Linked DNA regions of Homo sapiens: region 1 is linked to region 2. The links are contacts of gene promoters, found by promoter capture Hi-C in blood cells and fetal thymus (Javierre and others, 2016). All regions are on one chromosome and are shown on one strand. Each heading gives the region's core, a stretch centred on a gene start or on the middle of the fragment in contact. The rest is flanking DNA. Distances are from core to core; before and after follow the strand shown.

Evidence for each region. Contacts are between HindIII fragments. The CHiCAGO score rates a contact against its expected background, and 5 or more counts as called.
Region 1: a contact is called between a fragment that was not itself captured here and the fragment with the promoter of SH3GL3 in region 2, in 1 of 17 cell types (fetal thymus). The highest score is 6.7, in fetal thymus.

Annotation. Positions count from the first base shown.
Region 1 is chr15:83,532,804-83,535,679 of GRCh38, reverse strand. The region is part of intron 1 of SH3GL3 (SH3 domain containing GRB2 like 3, endophilin A3); the gene reads right to left. Among named protein-coding and RNA genes, the nearest start is that of SH3GL3, 87 kb to the right of the region's middle. The HindIII fragment of the contact is 3,041 bases long and covers 1-2,876 here.
Region 2 is chr15:83,445,976-83,448,675 of GRCh38, reverse strand. It overlaps SH3GL3 (SH3 domain containing GRB2 like 3, endophilin A3), which reads right to left and starts at 1,335. Exons shown (of 9, transcript NM_003027.5): 1 at 1,098-1,335. The coding sequence starts at 1,142. RefSeq lists an enhancer at 1,480-1,639. The HindIII fragment of the contact is 8,141 bases long and covers 1-2,700 here.

The sequences.
Region 1 (2,876 bases), core at 134-2,633, 87 kb before region 2:
CCCTGAATGGTTAAGGCAGAACCTTTGAAAGTGAATTAATCATGAAGGCTGCTTTCTTTCTGGGACCCCGTGTTCCCAGATCTCAACAGTGTCTGGGGACCAGACTACAAACAGGTCCATGTAGGAACATGAAGTTTCATGGGGATTTGGGAGAGAGTTAATCTTTTCCTTTCTTCCTTTAGGGAGATTTATTCTGTTATGTACCTTTATCATTGACCTAGGCCTGATAAGGACAATGTCGAGTAGCTATTTAGATGAGTTTAAAAGATCAGATTGTATAATAGAATGACTGAATGGGTTCTGAGCCACATGAAATAATTTGGCTAGAAAAATTAATGTACGTCATTCTCCTCAAGCCATCCTGTCCAACCTAGGAAAGTTTAATCACCTTTAAAAGGACATAGAAGGTTGAAGCTGACAATGTTTTATTCTTAAAGTTCACCAATAAATATAGGTCTAAAGACTGTTCTGGCACAAATAATATACCTGAGTTTTTTTTTTAATGAATATGCAAGAACAGCTTGTTTTAAATAAAAAAACTGTATAATTAGGCTTTGATCTATGATAGTGTTTGCCTTTTTTTTACATAGATGGTATTTTTCAAAAACTAAAAAATACAAAATGTAAAATATTACCAAATTTTATTAAAACTTTGACTTCATTATAAGAATTAAGAAGTAAAGTTCCCTCCATTCCTGGGTTTAATCAGTCTGAGACAATTCTTTCCACCTTTTTCCTAAATTTACATATACAAACACATGTTTTTCTTTTACAAAAGTACAATGAGTTACACATACTTTTCTGCAACCATCCCCAGAGAAAAGACATTTGCATTCTGGTATTTGTTTAACAACAACAACAAAATTAGTGCCTTCTATGCATCAAGCTAAGTATGGTATTTGAGGGTCATTCTATTCCTTCCTCAATACTCTGGAAATATTGCAATTTCTGCTGCTTTCTGGCATTTAATGTTGCTGAGAACAAGTCTGAGGGGAACAGAAGTAGGTAACTATTTTTCTGAATGTTTTGTTTTTAGGACCTGGAGTTAATTTTTATTTTCTTAAATTTTATTCATTTTTCTTATAAAATATATTTTAAATTTCTTCTTTATGAAGTCAAGTGTTCTTTTCCCATTAAATTTGCTTGGTCTGTAGGGAGCCCCTGTGAATATCAGAATCAGGTCAATGGATCTGTGAACTTTTAAAAATACATAGACACAAAGGTTTCGAATCTTTCGGCCTAAGCCAACAAGAGGGAGGGAGAGAGGGAGAGAGGGAGAGAGAGGGGAAGACAGAGAGACACTGCTGCACTAGAAGTAACTCCACTCCTGTTTTGACCCATTTTCTGCTGCTATAACAGAATACCAGCAATTGGGTAATTTATAGAGAAAAGATATTTATTTAGCTCACAGTTTTGGAGGCCAGTAAGTCCAACAGCATGGCACCAGCATCTGGCAAGGGTAAATCCCATGGCAGAAAACAGAAGGGAGGAGGGAGCACATGAGATAGAGAGAAAATAGAGGCCAAACTCTCTCCATTCACGGGAGCAAGACCTCATGGCCTAATCACCTCCTAAAGGCCCACCTTTTAATACTGTTACAGTAGCAATTGAGCTTCCAACACAATCTATGGGAACATATTGAAACACAGCACCCCAAACATCAAGGCAGATCAAAGCCTGGTAAACCCTGGGACCAGAAGTGAGTCCCAAGTTAAGGAGATACTTCCCAAGAGGATCCTTAAAAAGTTAGTACCACCAGAAATAAAAACGTACATTGCATGAGTCAAGTAAATACTAACCAGAGGGAAGACAAATTGGCTCAGCAAGGAAATGGGACACCTGCGAATAAGTCAGCTCTGAACACCTGCCAGGGACCAGAGAGATCAAAGCCATACTGCAATCACCAAAGAAACAGAAACTTCCCTGCCCCACTTTCCCCTCCTTTCATCCTACACTCCAAACCCAGAGGGCAAGAAACTCTGGGGTAAGAGACTCAAAGGGAGCACACACCCTCCCTGTGGCAATGCCCTACCCGAGGCCAACCCTAGCTGGGGAGGGGGAGAAAATTAACATCAAGTCAGCATTCAACTTGTGATTATCACATAGAACTGGAAATGCTAATGACTGAACAGAAACTGTTATATGATTTAAAGCAGTAGTCTTTAAACTGGAAACACATGGATACTGAACATGGATAGTTTTAAATGACTGTATTTCCAGATCCTAAGCCTCTGTATATGCTCTTTCCTATTAACCGATTTGTCTTCAGAAGCTCCTATATGAACCCCTTCTGCCATTTTACAATAGAAAAGCACAGCCCTCACCCATCCCAAGTCTCTAGGTATTGTCCTGGGGTGTGAAAGCTCCGGTGCATCTTCAATCTCTCCCACTCACATCAACATTTACATGTACTCAAGCCTTTCATATTCTAGAATGTAACCTTCCATTATTTCCCCATATTCTACTCTGGCTACCACCCTTTCTAGTCCATACTCCTCAGAACTGCCTCTTAAGGTGTCATAGACATGGACTGTCCCCATTTTCTCACTTCCCATTCATTTCTCAACCTATGTAAGTCCAACACTGTTAGCTGGCCACTCAATAAACACTCTCCTCTTCCTCACTAACAGAACCCAAATTTTGCATACAGTGTCAATGGGCCCAGCCCAGGCAATGATCACTATGCCAGAACATTCCCTGCTTTCCCAGCATTCCTTGTGACTACAGGTAGTCATATGTCTCATTATGGGCAATGAGACCTAAGTAGTTAGCTGCAGGTGGGGATTTCTTGGAAATTACTGGTTTCCTGATTTGAAGATGCCACTCTTCCTCCCTTCTTCCTATCTTGAACATGAACATGTATGAGGCTGCATCAA
Region 2 (2,700 bases), core at 86-2,585:
CACCACAAATGTGGACGTTGAATGAAATCTGTCTACCCTGGCTCTAGCAAAATGGGGGCTGGGGTTGCGGGGAGAGGTGGTGAGAAGCAACAGACCCAGCGGTGCTGGTGGGGAACAGGTTTTACAACGTGAGCTCTGCCATAGCTGGAAGAGCCTGCAATGTTGATGTTGAAAAACAAATTTGCTTGTCATCAACACACACACACACACACACACACACACACACACACACATCAATTTCATGTCTCCCCTCCTGTTTTCCTGTTTCCTCTGCTCAGAACGGCTTTCCTCCTATCATCCCACACCCTCAGCCATAATTCTTCCTCATACTTAATTCTCAAATGACATGTCTCCTCCTCCGGGAAGCTCTCCCTGACGCCCCCACTGTGTTATTTGTCATCCTCTGTGCGTGGAGGTGTGTCTAGCACTGTTTGTTTACGTGTCTGTCTCCGTGTCTCCCCTGCAGGCTGTCAGCTCTGTAAGAGCAGAAGCGTGATGCCCAGCCCCGGGCCGACACCGGGAAGACGGTGGGGAGGGGAAGGACCGCGGTAGAGAGCCCCAGCCGGGGAGCCGGGCACAGTCCAGACGGGGCCATTTCGATGCGCGCGCGGGGAGCTCAGCGGGACACAGCCAAGCGCCAAATACACAGCATCTCTGGAGGCGCCGGTGGCCGGTGGAGGATGGGCCCCCCACGAGGCTCTCCCAACCAAACGGCTGGAGACTCGGGGGAGGCCCTGCCGGCATCGTACTCCCTGTGGTCGTCCTCCCCTCGCGCGGGTAGGGGCCCCCCCACGCCCACTCCGTCTCCGCCTCCCGAGTCCCCGCGGCCGCCACCTCTGCCCTCCGCTCCGCAGAATCTCTCCGATTTACAACGGCCCAGGGCAGAGCCGGGGGCCAGGGAATGGGAAGGAGAAGGCGCCAAGACGCCGAGGAGAGAGCAGGCGGCCCCTCACCCCACCCTCGCGCCCTCCTAGGCGGGAAGAAATTGAGCCCCGAGAGAGGCCCTTCAGGGAACAGGAGTCCCAAAGGCCCGGGAGCCTCGGGGGGCCGCAGCCTCCGCGTCCCCCTCCCTCCTTCCCTCCTCTGCGCCTCCCTACCTGGCTGGCTTTGTGGAACTGCTTCTTCAGCCCGGCCACCGACATCGCGACTGCGACCGGCAGGGGCGGGGTGGTCTCAAGGCTCGGCTGGGCCACGCGGCCGCGACGCGCTCGGGGAGCGGGAGCCCGGGCCGGTCCCCCCGCGGCTGGGCTCCGCCGGGCCCGCCTCCCACGGCCACGGCCACAGCCACAGCCGCTGTCACACTCGCACACACGCGCGCACGCCGATGGCAACACTGCGTTCCAAAGCCCCTGCGCAGCCCATTGGCCAAGCCGCGGCGATATGCAAATGAAGCTGCTGGGGCCGCCCACGCTTCATTGTTGCGTGGAGACCTGGGCTACTTGAGCCGCGCAGAAGACCGGCCTGGGAAGCTGGGCGTGGGGATGTCCTGGGGGTCGGGGGAGTACAGTCACACAGTGCTTCTTGCTGGGCGCGGGACGATATAGATCTAGCTCTGAGATTGTCATGGGTACCGGGAGAGAGATCAGTTCTCTCTGCTTCTGTCTTGGTGCCGAACCGGCTTTGGCTCACAGGCAACATCGCCTCCCTCCGGCGCATTTTCGCTCGGTGTATGTTTAAGAAAGGAAGGCTCAGAAATGCGCCTAGGGAGGGACAACAAATGCAACTCGATGGGGGACCTGTGGTAGGAGGAAGCGGTCTGTGGGTGGCGGGCTTTCTTCTCTCTCCACGCGGTGCTCTGGGTGCAATCTGCTCAAATGATTTTGGTCTTCTGGGAGCCCTAGAGTTATGGAGTAATTTACTAATAAATACGGTGCTAGCTCACTTGGTGCTCTGAGCCCGCTGTCAACGGCACTAAAAGCAACCATCTCCAAGGTGCCATAAAGAGCTCGTTGCATATCCGGCGGAGTCCACCAGACCAGGAACCCAGCTCTCTCGGTAACCCCTACCAGCTGTGTCAGTTACAGAGTGTCCATTTGCACAGAGTCCAGAGGTCGACGCACTCACAGCTAAGCCCAGCCAGGGACATGGAGCATTGCGTTAACCTCGTGTTAGAGCTATCCCCAAAAGGTACAGCATCTTCGCTGAATCTGGCTTCCAAAGGTCCCGAGGATTCCCAAACCTAGAATATATGTTTGGCAACGCTTCACACTGAAAAACAAAAACATTTCCCACCTTCAGTCTCTTTTTGGGCCCTTAGCAGGTCCCATCTGGGGTGACGAGCAGTCCCTGTCTGCCCTGGACACTTCGGGTATATGCCTGTGCCCTGGTGTCCACCTGCCATAACATTTCTCCAGGACAAAAGTCATGCAGTTCCTCCCCTAGCTGTTAGCTCCCAGCGCCCAGTCGGGGCTAGTCCTAACCCTGACTTCATCCTAGTGAGGACTGGGCAAGTAAGTACACACCTCTCTGGGCCTTGGTTTCCTCACTTCTACTTGAAGCATGTAGACTGGAATAAACAGTGTTCCTCCTCTGATACTGGGGAAAAAATGCTTGAACTTAGTGGAGATCGTGGGATAAGGGCAGCCAGTCAGAGGGTTAATGAGCATGACTTGGGTGAGTGTTGTGGGCTTACCTGCCTGACACCAGCCACTGATAGATAACTAAAAAGTGTGAGGGTGGTGACAGCTGGGTCAGAATGGC